2 separate regions of the Homo sapiens genome follow, and region 2 is linked to region 1. Evidence: promoter capture Hi-C in 16 types of primary human blood cells and fetal thymus (Javierre and others, 2016). All regions are on one chromosome and are shown on one strand. Each heading gives the region's core, a stretch centred on a gene start or on the middle of the fragment in contact. The rest is flanking DNA. Distances are from core to core; before and after follow the strand shown. Region 1 holds the start of EFCAB8 (EF-hand calcium binding domain 8). Region 2 overlaps CDK5RAP1 (CDK5RAP1 mitochondrial tRNA methylthiotransferase).

Evidence for each region. The method cuts DNA at HindIII sites, captures the fragments that hold promoters and counts their contacts. A CHiCAGO score of 5 or more calls a contact.
Region 2: a fragment that was not itself captured here is called in contact with the fragment with the promoter of EFCAB8 in region 1 in 1 of 17 cell types (M1 macrophages); the score reaches 7.6 in M1 macrophages.

What each region holds. Positions count from the first base shown.
Region 1 is chr20:32,855,625-32,862,577 of GRCh38, reverse strand. EFCAB8 (EF-hand calcium binding domain 8) reads right to left here and starts at 3,655. Exons shown (of 27, transcript NM_001143967.2): 1 at 3,572-3,655. It overlaps LOC119746555 (a long non-coding RNA gene), which reads right to left and starts at 5,946. Exons shown (of 1, transcript NR_171378.1): 1 at 3,827-5,946. RefSeq lists an enhancer at 2,976-3,788. The HindIII fragment of the contact is 6,288 bases long and covers 1-5,288 here.
Region 2 is chr20:33,377,612-33,385,151 of GRCh38, reverse strand. CDK5RAP1 (CDK5RAP1 mitochondrial tRNA methylthiotransferase) reads left to right here. Exons shown (of 14, transcript NM_016408.4): 8 at 5,461-5,691. Among named protein-coding and RNA genes, the nearest start is that of CDK5RAP1, 20 kb to the left of the region's middle. The HindIII fragment of the contact is 203 bases long and covers 5,089-5,291 here.

The DNA.
Region 1 (6,953 bases), core at 2,406-4,905:
CTCTAATCTAGCAGTGTCTTGGCAACAGCTCACACCTAAGGACCAAAGGAGAGAGGACAGCCTAAGGGAAGGAGATTTGGAAGCCAAGAAGCAAGCTAACAGAAATGCCAGAACCACTTTCAGAAAAAGGAGCAAAGAGGGAAAGTGGTTTTAATGCATGTGATACTAGGCTGTCCAATTAGGAATAAAAAATAGGCCGAGGCGGGAGGATCGCTTGCATCCAGGAGTTTGAGACCAGCCTGGGCAACATTGAGACCCCACATCTACAAAAAATCCAAAATTAGCCAGGTGTGGTGGCACATGCCTATACACCCAGCTACTCAGGAGGCTGAGGTGGGAGAATTACTTGAGCCCAGGAGGTTGAGGCTGCAGAGAGCTGAGATCATACCACTACACTCCAGCCTGGATGACAGAGTGAGACCCTGTCTCAAAAAAAAAAAAAAGAAAAGAAATAATAAAAACAAGTATCTGGAAATCTGGGGACTGAAACTTGAGGAGTGGCTACATTTAGAGGACAGAAAGAGGGAGAAACACACAAGACAGCTAGGAGAATGGGACGCTACAAAGTGACCTAAGGTGATAAGGGAAAGAAACAGCCACTGAAAAAGGCAATTAAGAGGTTACCAGTGAAAAAACTAAAGTGTATGTAAAATGTTAAGTTCATTTCTGTTAAGAATATATGCATGTGCATATTGGCACATGCATAAAAAAGAGCCTGGAAACATATACTCCAAAATTAATAGCAGTCATCTCTGGTAGGTGAGATTATGGAAGATGTTTATAGCCTAAATCATGCAATTCTCTGATTTTTATTTTAATTAAAAAAGGGTTCATGGCGATCTTTTGAGATGGGGTCTTGCAATGTTGCCCAGGCTGGTTTTGCACTCCTGGGCTCAGGTGATCCTCCCATCTCAGCCTCCCAAGTAGCTGGGACAACAGGCACATGCCACCACACCAGGCTCATGGCAATCTTTAACATGTGTTTCAACGGCTAGGCGCGGTGGCTCACATCTGTACTTCTAGCACTTTGGGAGGCCGAGGCAGACGGATCACCTGATGTCAGGAGTTCAAGACCAGCCTGGCCAGCATGGAGAAATCCCATCTCCACTAAAAATACAAACGTTAGCTGGGTGTGGTGGTGGATGCCTGTAATCCCAGCTACTCAGGAGGCTGAGGCAGGAGAACTGCTTGAATCCAGGAGGCGGAGGTTGCGGTGAGCCGAGATTGTGCCATTGCACTCCAGCCTGGGCAACAAGAACGCAACTCCGTCTCAAAAAAATAAAATAAAATGTGTTTCAGTGGAGTGGGTAGGATGGTGGGTAGTAATTTAAATGACTCCTTTGTGAAAGGCCACTGTTGAAGAGTGATTGCTGCAGCATCATTCATAGGAGCAAAAACCAAAAGTGAACCATTATAGACACAGAAATGAACAAATCAGTGCATCTGCACCTAGGACGTCACCCAAACATCAGAAGGATGAATCTGACTTCCAGCAGCTAAGAGAGATTTCCATGAAGTACTAATAAGAAAAGCACGATGCAGGCCAGGCACAGTGGCTCATACCTGTAATGCCAACACTTGAGGCCAAGGTGGGAAGATCGCTTGAGCCCAGGAATTTGAGACCAGCCTGGGCAACATGGTGAAACCCCATCTGTACAAAACATACAAAAAATTATCTGGGTATGGTGACACTCCCCTGTAGTCCCAGCTACTCAAGAGGGTGAGATGGGAGGATTACCTGCATCCAGAAGTTTGAGGCCGTAGTGAACTGTAATCACAACACTGCACTCCAGGGCCTGGGTGAGAGAATGAGACCTTGTCTCAAAAAAATAAATAAATAAAAAAACCAAGATGCAGAAAAGGGTGCACACTATGATGCCAATTTTTATAAAAGAATGAAAAAATAGCCTGGGCACAATGGCTGACGTCTGTAATCCCAGCTACTCGGGAGACTGAGGCACGAGAATCGCTTGAACCCAGGAGGTGGAGGTTGCAGTGAACTAAGACTGTGCCATTGCACTCCAGCCTAGGCAAAAGAGTAAGACTCCATCTCAAAAAAAAAAAAAAAAAAAAAAAAAAAAAAAGTTACCACCATCAGCGATGGAACAAAATGACATCCATCACACACCTCCTGATCCGATACATGCAGGGCACAATGCTTCAGTAGTATTATTGCCAAAAAAATACATGATCTGAATCTAATCATAAGGAAACAGACAAACCCACATTACAGGATATTCTACAAAATAACTGGGTTTTTTTTTGCTTTTATTTTTGAGAGTCTCACTCTGTCACAGGCTGGAATGCAGTGGCTCAATCTCAGCTCACCGCAACCTCCACCTCCCAGATTCTGATGATTCTCATGCCTCAGCCTCCTCAGTAGCTGGGATTATAGGTGCACGCCACCATGCCCAGCTAACTTTCGTATTTTTAGTAGAAACAGGATTTCTCCATGTTGGCCAGGCTGGTCTCAAACTCCTTGGCCTCAAGTGCTTTCCGCCCGCCTTGGCTTCCCAAAGTGCTGGGATTACAGGCGTGAGTCACCGCGCCTGGCCAAAATAAAATGCCATGTAAACCAAAGAAAGGCTAAGGAACTGTTAGAGATGAAAGGTGACTCAAGAGACCCAACAACTAAAGGCAATGCACGATTCTGAATTGAATCCGATTGGGAAAAAACAAAAATGCTGCAAGGGCTGTTATTTGGTGAAATTATGTAAAATTTGAACATGGACTCTATATTATTAGATAGCATATTAATGTTTTCTGCTTTTGATAACTGTATTGTGGTTATGAGAATGTCCTTGTTTCAGGAAATGTACACTGAAAAGTATTTAGGGGTAAAAGGGCATGATGTCTGTAATTCTCAAATGGTTTAACAAGTAACATGTATAATAACACAAATGTGGCAAAATGTTCACAATTAGTCTATCTGGACAAAGGGAAGTTCTTTGTAGTAGTCTTACAACTATTTATATATTTTTAATTATTTCAAAACTAAATATTTTGTAAGATAAATGTCTTTCACCAGGAGAAAGTGGTTCTATGTATGTTCATGAACAGAGGTAAAACGCCAAATGGGAAAAAAAGTGCTGGTTGCTGCCAACAGAGACCACCCAAAAGAAAAGGGCAAAAGCAAGAGGGGAGAGGCCAAGACAAGTACCATTCCTCCAACTCTGAAGGGAAGGAAGGGAAGGCTGAGATGTAAAACTCGGTTGATATTTAGAATTGGAGAACAGGTCAGATCAGAAGTCACATCCATCTGCCTCAATCTATTCCCTAAAGTTGACCTGTCCGGAGCTGACGGAAGAGGGGCAGGGCAAGGCAGGTGGGAGAGTACCATCCAGAACAGGGGTGAGAATTCAGAGCAGCCACTAGGGGAACATGCTAGGGATGAGAGGGGAACGAGTGGTTTGTACGAATTTGTAGAGGCAGATGACTTAAGGATACATGCATTGAAAGCCAGCCAGGACACAGATAAGAGCTGCTCTCCAGCCTTGGAGGTCAGGCAGAGGTCTTCAGCAGAGGTATCCAATCTTTTGGAGAGCAACTTTCACCTAAAACCCTCACTCACCCTGACTCAATTTGATCTCCTCAGTTAATCTTGCTGGCAAAGTCTGGCAAAGTGCTAACACTTTCCAACTCCCATCTCAACAAAGACATTGGCAGCTGTTCCCAGTCCAAGACAGCTCCTTTATGAAGTCGAGATGGAACTCTGGGTCTGCTGGTCATATTTAGAACTAGGGAAATGAGACAGAATTCCGTATGAAGAACATAAATGAAGCATCAGAACCCGTCCCACAAACCATAATCACAGAACCATTTTTCATCCAATTTGAAACATTTCTTTTATTGAAGAAGTTGAACTTACAGCAGACAGTGAAAGGAGTTACAGCACTCCAGGACAAACACAGACATAAAATAATACATAAAACAAGTAGCGGGAAACTGGAAGATGCCAGGGAGTCCTCTTATAAAAGCAGGGTTCACCAAAACCAGAAGGCCAACTGGCTCCAGGACAGCGAAAGGCACAGTGGCTCCTCTGCTCCTCTGCCTTCTGCCCCATTTGAAATGGGGGACTTACAAATCCAGACTTCAGGGCAGGCCTAGACTTGATGCAGCCACTGCAATCTTGGTCCATGGTGCAATTTGGCAGACAAGTTGGTGAAAGGTAAGTTGTCTCCAGAGATTTCAATCAGGGACGTGGCTTCCAGATGTTAAAAGATACCCAGCTAAGTCACAAGGAAGTGGATGTTTTCAAATGCTAAGTGACCACCAAACAAAACATTCTCCCTGGGCCTTCACCACTCAGAGAACACCAACATACAAAAACAAAAGTCTGTTCCCATTTCATCAATAATGGAGTTTTAAGGATTTTGTCATAGTGTAGAATATTAAGAATGGATGAATAAAAAGTCAAAAAAGGTGCAGAGGTCCTATAAATCAGGGTTTATTAGACTAGATATTAATAAATTGGAAGGGTTTAAAAAAAAAAAGGCTGTTGGCCCTACATATGACAGTTTCCCATTGTTTCTTAGCTTAGTATATTTATTTTCCAACACAATGTTAGCAATTCTTACAGCAGTTCTTGCATTTTTCCAATAACATTTTTATTAATCAAATGGTATATATTTTTCACTATAACCTATTTTCACTGATTAATACATTTATCAGTATTTTAATGTGGCCTAAAATATGCTAAATTCTGTCACAATAAATATGTTTTTCCCTCCCTGGGGAGAAACACAAGTAAAAAAAGGAAAATATTAAGATGCATTCCACTTTTTAGTTAAGGAAAAGTTCAGAAAACTCCCATCTTTTTAAAAAAGAATGAAAATATGATCCTAAGTAACTCAGGTTAGAAAAACAGTAACAGAGCCAGGCGCAATGGCTCACGCCTATAATCCCAGCACTTTGGGAAGCTGAGGCAGGAGGATCACTTGAGCCCAGGAGTCTGAGATCAGCCCAGGCAACATAGTGAGACCATGTCTCTATTAAAAAAAAAAAAAAATTAAAGAGAGAAAAAAACAGTAATAATAAAACAAGTGGGGAGGAGGACATTTAGAAGAAAAATCTAGATAAACCTCTGCACAAAAATAATTTTGGAAAAAAGTTAGAAGTCCTACCTGAGATTAATTCAGGCGTCACTGGCTAATGCTAAGGGAATTCTGATTGGAAGGCAGCAACTCAGGGGCCCAAGGACCACATTAACAGATGCAATTACCTGCCCTAGAGAAGGCGCTTCCTCACACTCCCACTTAGCTGCAATGCCAATACTGTCCTTTCAAGCTTCAACCCTGTGATTTTAAGATATCAAAACTTGTATCCTTCTTCAGCTCTATGTAATTTGTCAAAAATTTCAAGATGCAACTCTATAGCCAAAAAGAGAGCCTTTTACTTTTTCAAACAAAAATAAACAAGAGAAGTCACTGACTGCTAAAACTAGAAGGGACCCTCAAGATTGGTATCACAGGATCACACCTTCATCTGGCAGTAGGTTGAGGTCAGTAACTCAGCTCACATGACATTTAAAACCACACAACACTACCAGAGAGAGCTACAGGTTCAGATGCCAATGGTTTCAAAAAACCATGATTCAGGCCGGGTGCAGTGGTTCACGCCTGTAAACCCAGCACTTTGGGAGGCCGAGGCAGGTGGATCACAAGGTCAGGAGTTTGAGACCAGCCTGGCCAACATGGTGAAATCCTGTTTCTACTAAAAACACAAAAATTAGCCAGGCACGGTGGTGCGTGCCTGTAATCTCAGCTACTCGGGAGGCTGAGGCAGGACAATCGCTTGAATCTGGGAGGCGGAGGTTGCAATTAGCCAAGATCGCACCACAGCACTCCAGCCCGGGCGACAACAGCAACACTCCGTCTTGAAAAAAAAAAAAACAAAAAAACCACGATTCAAGAAAAAGGCAGATTCTCCTGTGTTCAGCAGCTACTTTAAAAAAAAAAAAAAAAAAAAAGGCACTTCTTGGCCAGGAGTGGTGGAGGACTGCTTGAGCCCAGGAGTTTGAGACCAGCCTGGGGAACATAGCCAGACCCTGTCTCTACAAAAATAAAATTAGCTGAGCAGTTCCAGCTCCTTGGGAGGCTGAGGTGGGAGAATCACTTGAGCCCGGGAAGTCAAGGCTGCAGTGAGCCGTGACCATGCCACTGCACTCCAGCCTGGGTGACAGAGCGAGACCCTGCCTGGAAAAAAAACAACAACAACAACAAAAAAGCACTTCCTAATGATTGGGGAAAATATTAAATATTAGGTCAGAGAGTTAAACACTCTTAGAAATTTTTAAGAATACATTTATTTCACTCAACACTGAATCTTAAAATTATTACTTCTTCAGACCAGGCACGGTGGCTCAGGCCTGTAATCCCAGCACTTTGGGAGGCGGAGGAGGGCGGATCACTTGAGCTTAGGAGTTGCAGACCAACCTGCACAGCATAGTCAAACCCCATCCCTACCAAAAAAAAAAAAAAAAAAGAAAATTATTACTTCCTCTCTCAGGCTTCAAAATTAAGGAGGAGGGAGGGACAAATTGGGATATCCCATAGCTGCCTGCAAAAAACACAATAGCTTATTCCATTCTCCCAAGCAGGATTTAAAATTTCAAAGTGAAAACAGCAGTCATATGTAATTATACATGCTTAACTCTCTCACATTTTGTAGAAAAACATACAAAATACAAAAAAAAAAAAAAAGACTGTATCAAGTTAGAAAACTTAAATAGAACACCAAAATCCAGATGACCTTGAAGTTTTGCTGGATCTTAAAATCACTAGAACTACTTCAAAATATATAAATAGGCCCCATTATGAAAAATATAAATATGAACATGATAAATAAGCAAGAGAGGAAAGGAAACTGGTCACTCAGATAAACCATGACAGGTCCTGGGTAAAATACATTTAGACGATTCGGGGATGGAGGTACTAGAATTAGCAAGGCCCTCC
Region 2 (7,540 bases), core at 3,941-6,440, 520 kb before region 1:
GTGGATCAGAAGCCACAGGGGAGATCTGCTCTTCTTTCTCCCACTGGGAGCTGGTCCTCAGCTTTTGAGGAGGTCTTTTCCTTAGCCCCGGGCCTGAATCTGCTACCCCTGCAGAAGAGGACAATAGGTGGGAATATGGTGGCTTTTCCTAACAGTGGTGTCTCCCTGCTTCCTTACTTGTTTGGCTCAGGAATCATGGGAGAGGGCCAGGGTAGCCCCTGCCCCAGTTCTTTTTTTATTTTTTATTTTTGAGACGGGCTTTCACTCTGTCACCCAAGCTGGAGTACAGTGGTGTGGTCAGAGCTCACTGCAGCATCACCTGCCTGGACTCAAGCAATTCTCCCACTTCAGCCTCCCAAGTAGCTGGGACTACAGGTAGGTGCCACCACGCCCAGTGAATTTTTTAATTATTTGTAGAGATGAGGTCTCACTATGCTGCCCAGGCTGGTCTAGAACTCCTGGGATCAAGTAATCCTACTGTCTTGGCCTCCCAAAGTGCTGGGATTACAGTCATGAGCCACTGTGCCTGGCCTCCCTGCTCTAGTTCTAAGTCACCAGTTTGCTATCATCCTCACATTCTGGCAGTGCTGTCTTCTCTTGCCCTACCCCCAGATAATCAGTTCCTTGATTTGGCCCCTAGCTGCTCCCCTGCTCTGTGAGGCATTTTCCATACCCCACCTCTCCAAGTGCTTCCTGGTCTAAAGTTGTCTCCTTCCTCTCCCCTTCCAGCTCTCCCTCAGTACCAAAACTCACTCCTTCAGGATAGAGACATTCTGTTTAAATAGACTGAGATGGTGACAAAACTCCCCAACCTTTCTAGGCCATTTGCCTATAAAAGAAGGAACTTAATAACATTAAAGTGAATCTTAGTGAATTCAAGGCCATAGACTTGTGGAAAATTAAGATTTTACTTGTATTTTAAAGTATCTGTTAGTCACTTAATAATTTTGCTTGTTTAGTAATTTTTAAAGATTTTTTTTCTTTCATTTAGATTTTTTAGACTACAGTTGCAAAGAGTATAGAATATTGTACCTTTAACAGAATGTCCGTTTATTCATTCAAACAATGGTTATCTATTGGAAGTCTTCTAAATAAGCAACTTTTATAAAAAGTCTTTTTAATCTTTTTATATGAAAAATACTTAAATATACTGAAAAGAGGGAATAGTATAATGACCCCTCTGCCCCAGCTAACAATCACCTAAATTTAACAATTGTTGCATTTTGCCATATTTGTTTCATTTACTTTTATTTTTTATTTTTTTTTGGCTGGAGTGTAGTGGTATGATCTCGGCTCACTGCAGCCTCCACCTCCCAGATTCAAGCGATTCTCCTGCCTTATCCTCCTGAGTAGCTGGGATTACAGGTGCCTGGCACCACACCTGGCTGATTTTTTTTTTTTTTTTTTTTTGAGACAGAGTTTTGCTCTTATTACCCAGGCTGGAGTGCAATGGTGTGATCTCGGCTCACCACAACCTCCGCCTCCCGGGTTCAAACGATTCTCCTGCCTCAGCCTCCCGAGTAGCTGGGATTATAGGCATGCGCCACCACGCCTGGCTAATTTTGTATTTTTTAAGTAGAGACGGGGTTTCTCCATGTTGTTCAGGCTGGTCTCGATCTCCCGACCTCAGGTGTTCCTCCCACCTCGGCCTCCCAAAGTGTTGGGATTACAGGTAAGAGCCACTGTGCCTGGCTTAATTTTTGTATTTTTAATAGAGACGGGGTTTCACCATGTTAGGCTGGTCTCAAACTCCTGATCTCAAGTGATCCACCCGCCTCGGCCTCCCAAAGTGCTGGGATTACAGGTGTGAGCCCACTACGCCTGGCCTCATTTATTTTTTTCTTATTGAAAACGTATTTCAAAGTAGAGCATGTTGTTTCATCCTTCAGTATGCATCTCTAAAAAATAAGGATATTTTCTTTTTTAAACATTTAAAAATCTTTTTATTATTTATTTATTTATTTATTTTTGAGATGGAGTTTCGCTCTTTTTGCCCAGGCTGGAGTGCAATGGCACAATCTTGGCTCACCGCAACCTCCGCCTCCCAGGTTCAAGTGATTCTCCTGCCTCAGCCTCCCAAGTAGCTGGAATTACAGGTGTGCACCACTACACCCAGCTAATTTTGTATTTTTAGTAGAGATGGGGTTTCACCATGTTGGCCAGGCTTAGTCTCAAACTCCTGACCTCAGGTGATTCACCCGGCTCAGCCTCCCAAAGGGCTAGGATTACAGGTGTGAGCCACTGTGCCTGGCCTATTTATTTATTTACTTATTTATTTATTTATTTTGAGACAGAGTCTTGTTCTGTTGCCCAGGCTGGAGTGCAGTGTTATGATCTTGGCTCACTGCAACCTCTGCCCCCGGGACTCAAGTGATCCTCCTGCCTCAGCCTCCTGAGTAGCTGGGATTATAGGCACGTACCACCATGTGCTGCTAAAGAATATTTTTATTTTATTTTATTTATTTATTTAGAGACGGAATTTTGCTCTTTTTGCCCATGCTGGAGTGCAATGGCACGATCTCAGCTCACTGCAACCTCCACCTCCTGGGTTCATGTGATTCTCCTGCTTCAGCCTCCTGAGTAAATGGGACTACAGGCATGCGCCACCATACTTAGCTCATTTTTGTATTTTTAGTAGAGACGGGGTTTCACCATGTTGGGCAGGCTGGTCTCGAACTCCTGACCTCAGGTGATCTACCCGCCTTGGCCTCCTAAAGTGCTAGGATTACAGGCATGAGCCACCGTGTCTGGCCAAGAATATTTTTAATACCATTAGTTCTTCCAGTAAGATTAACAAAAATTGCTAAATACTGTCTCATTCCAGTTCATCCTTATTCGGAGTTCCCCAATTGTTCCTTAAGTCATTCTGCATTTGGTTTGTATGTCTTTTTATATATGTGTGTGTATTTTACTTAGTTTTATATCCTACTTTTTAATAAACTTTTTGTTTTGGAATGACTTTACATTTACAGGAAAGTTGCAAAGAGAGTTTCCTCGAGCATTGCCATCTTTCTTTGGTACATTTTTTGGTGCTGTAATCCCAGCACTTTGGGAGGCCAAGGCAGGAGGGTGCCTTGAGCGTAGGAGTTCAAGACCAGCCTGGGCAACACTGGGAGCTGCTGTCTCTATTACAAAACAAACAAAGCAAAAACTAAGAGATTAATATTGGTATGTTACTATTAACTCTCTTCAGACTTTATTTGGATTTTGCCAGTTTCTCCACTAATGTCTTACTTCGTTTCCAGGATCCAATCTAGGATCCACATTGCATTTAGTATATCCTGCTTTTTAGATTAACAGTATGTCACAACTTACACAAATAAATAGCCTTTATGGAGACTGGAGTTATGACAACTAAATGCATCGCACGGTCCTCGATTGGGATTCTGATCAGGGAAAAAAATGTTATAAAGAACATTATTTGGGCTGGGCGTGGTGGCTCACACCTGTAATCCTAGCATTTTGGGAGACCATGGTGTGCAGATTGTCTGAGCTCCGGAGTTTGAGACTAGCCTGGGCAACTTGGCAAAACCCGTCTCTACTAAAAAATACAAAAAGTTAGCCTGGCGTGGTGACACACGCCTGTAGTCCCAGCTACTCAGGAGGCTGAGGCAGGAGAATCGCTTGAACCTGGGAGGCGGAGATTGCAGTGAGCCAAGATCACGCTAGTGCACTCCAGCCTGGGCAACAGAGTGAGACTCTGTCTCAAAAAACAACAATAACAACAACAACAACAACAAAACATTATTTGGACTATTGGTAACATTTGATTTATGGAAAGTAGATAATAGTGTTGTATCAATATTTCTGATTTTGATAATTGTCCTGAAATTATATAGGAGAATGCCCTTGTTTTTAAGAAATATATACTAAAATATTTGGAAGTAAAAGAGTATGATATCTGTGACTTTTTCTCAGAAGGCTTAAAAAAAATGTAGTCATATGTGTGTTGAGAGAGAGTGTATATGAGTGTCTGAATGTGAATGATAAACAAATGGGGTGCAGTGTTAACATTTGATGAATTTGGGCAAAGAGTATATGGGAATTCTTTTAATATTGCAGTTTGTCTGTAAATTATGTCAAAGTTACAAAACAAGTCTTTTTTAGCAACCATTATTTGTGAAACTTTATAATATAACATTTCTATTTTTTGAGATGGAGTCTCGCTCTGTTGCCCAGGCTGGAGTGCAGTGGCATGGTCTCGGCTCACTGCAGCCTCTGCCTCCTGGGTTCAAGCGATTCTCCTGCCTCACCCTCCTTAGTAGCTGGGATTAGGTGCCTGCCACCACGCCCAGCTAATTTTTTGTATTTTTAGTAGAGAAGGGATTTCACCATGTTAGCCAGGCTGGTCTGAACTCCTGACCGTGTGATCCGCCCACCTTGGCCTCCCAAAGTACTGGGATTTCAGGAGGGAGCCACTGCACCTGGCCTATAATATAAATTTTCAAACAGACAAATAGAAAGACTAGTATAATAGAAAAACGTGATTGTTAACATTTTGTCATACACCTATCTCCATGCACCCATAAATGTATTTTTTCTGAACCATTTGAAGTAATTTGTAGACCTCAGGACACTTGCCCCTAGATACTTCAGTATGTATCTTCTATGAGTAACAATTTTTCTCTTCATAACCATGATATCATTATCATATGTATGAAAATCAATAGTTATTTAAGCCAGACACTTTGGGAGGCTGAGGTGGGAGGATTGCTTGAGTTTAGGAGTTTAAAACCAGTCTGTGCAACATGGTGAAATCCCATCTCTACAAAAGTAAAAAAAGGTAGTCCCAGCTACTTGGGAGGCTGAGGCAGGAGGACTGCTTAAGCCTGGGAGGTTGAGGCTACAGTGAGCTATGATCGTGCTGCTGCACTCCAGCCTGGGCAACAGAGGGAGACCCTGTCTCAAGAAGAAGAAGAAAAAAATCTAAAACAGCTCTTTTATTTTTTGTTGTTGTTGTTTTCTTTAAATGATGCATTAACTTTTTGAAGAGATCAGACATGAGTCTCCTTTGTCTGATTTTTTCCTCATGTTGTCATTTAATATATCTCTGTGAATTCTAGTAACTGGAAGTTAGGTGTAAAAGCTTGATTAGTTCAGGTTAAATATTTCTGGTGAGAATACTTTATATAGTCATGGTGTATAACATTCAAATGACAGATCTATCATAAATTAACCATTATTGTGGATTATTGAGTTTGTTTCCAGTTTTGATTCTAAATAATGTTTTGAAGATTAATTTTTATATAAGGCTTTATTAGGTTTAGCTCTTTAGGTAAGATGTCTAAGCTTGAAATTATTCGGTTATAGACACAACACACTTATAGGTGACTCTTGGTAGGTTCGATTTTTCTTTTGTTTAAAACAAAAGATATGTTAATTTCAGCTAATTTTTAATTAGTGTTTTTTTATGAAGCTACCCAAAAGTTTTAAAATTCCAATATATTTTCCCATGTTTAGGGGCTGAAAGAAGTGACACTTCTTGGTCAGAATGTTAATAGTTTTCGGGACAATTCGGAGGTCCAGTTCAACAGTGCAGTGCCTACCAATCTCAGTCGTGGCTTTACCACCAACTATAAAACCAAGCAAGGAGGACTTCGTTTTGCTCATCTTCTGGATCAGGTCTCCAGAGTAGATCCTGAAATGAGGATCCGTTTTACCTCTCCCCACCCCAAGGATTTTCCTGATGAGGTGAGCGTCAGGTTAGCTGTGACAAACTGATATTAGTATTCTTGAGCATGCCAAAGGCTGGACCCAGTAGGGATGCAGCAGAGACCTGGAGTCCTGCTTAGGGATCCTGTGGGGTATTGCTGCATCACCCTCCAGATCTGCTGGTCCTTTGAAGATTTGAAGTCCACCAGTGGCTGGGCACGGGGCTTACACCAATAATCTCAACACTTGGAGACGCTGAGGCAGGTGGATTACTTGAGCTCAGGAGTTGGAAACCAGCCTGGGCAACATGGCGAAACCCCGTCTCTACTGCAAATACAAAAAATTAGCTGGGTGGGGTGGGATACGACTGTAGTTCTGGCTACTTGGGAGACTGAGGTGGCATACGACTGTAGTTCCAGCTACTTGGGAGACTGAGGTGGGAGAATCACATGAGCCCAGGAAGTCGAGGCTGCAGTGAGCCGAGATCGCACCACTGCACTCCATCCTGGGTGAGATAGCGAGACCCTGTCTCGAAAAAAAAGTCTGCCAAGGTGGGAGTGGAGGTAGGACTGATATTCAGCGGGAGGTTAAGACCACCTGCGGGACCGTGAGGGCTGTACAGAGAGGATTTGTTACAAAGTGGGCAGCTGAGTGGTAATAATGGTGGTGGGGCGGTAATGGTGGTGTGGGGTGGACAGGAAGGAGGTGATGTGGTGCTCTGGGAAACAGCCCAGACTTTCGCCTCAGACCCGGGTTCAAATCTCAGCTTTTCCACTGTTTTACCAGCGAGCATGTGATGTTTTCAACTTTTCATCTTTATCTGTAAAATGGGGTTAATAAGGGGTTAACAATTACCTCCTGCTTTGGGTTGTTGTGAAATAGATACAAAGGCATACCTTGTTTTATTGCACTCTGCAGATATTATGGAGTTATTTTTAACAAATGGAAGGTTTGTGGCAACTCTGAATAAGTCTGTCAGCACCATTTTTCCAACAGCATGTGCTTACTTCATGTCTCTGTGTCATATTTTGGTAATTTTCACAATATTTCAAACTTCATTATTATTACATCTGTTATGGTGATCTGTGATCAGTGCTATTTAATGTTATTCTTAAAATTGTTTCGGAACACCATGAGCCACACCCACATAAGAAAGTGACCTAAATTGGTAAATGATGTGTGTGTTCTGACTGTTCCACAGACGGCCATTCCCCCATCTCTCTCCCTTTCCTCAGGCCTCCCTATTCTCTGAGACACAACAATATTGAAATTGGGCCATTTAATCACCCTACAATGGCCTCTAAAGTGCTCAAGTGAAGGGAAGGGTCGCAGGGCTCTCACTTGAAATCAAAAGCCAGAAATGTTTAAGCTTACTGAGGAAATCATGTTGAAAGCCGAGCTAGGCTGAAAGCTAGGCCTCTTATGTCAACCAGCCAAGTTGTAAATGCAAAGGAAAAGTTCATGAAGGAAATTAAAAGTACTACTCCACTGAACACATGAATGATAAGAAAACAACACAACCTCTTTGGCCGGGTGTGATGGCTCACAGGCTGGGCGCAGTGACTCACACCTTTAATCCCAGCATTTTGGGAGGCCAAGGTGGGTGGATCACCTGAGGTCAGGAGTTCTAGATCAGCCTGGCCAACATGGCAAAACTCTGTCTCTACTAAAAATAGAAAAATTAGCTGGGTTTGGTTGTGCAGACCTGTAATCCTAGCTGCTTGGGAGGCTGAGGCAGGAGAATTGCTTGAACCCGGGAGGCAGAGGTTGCAGTGAGCTGAGATTGTGCCACTGCATTCCAGCCTGGGCAATAGAGTGAGACTCCATCTCAAAAAGAAAAACAAGAAAACCCAAAAAAACCACTAACAACAAAACCCAGCCTTTTTGC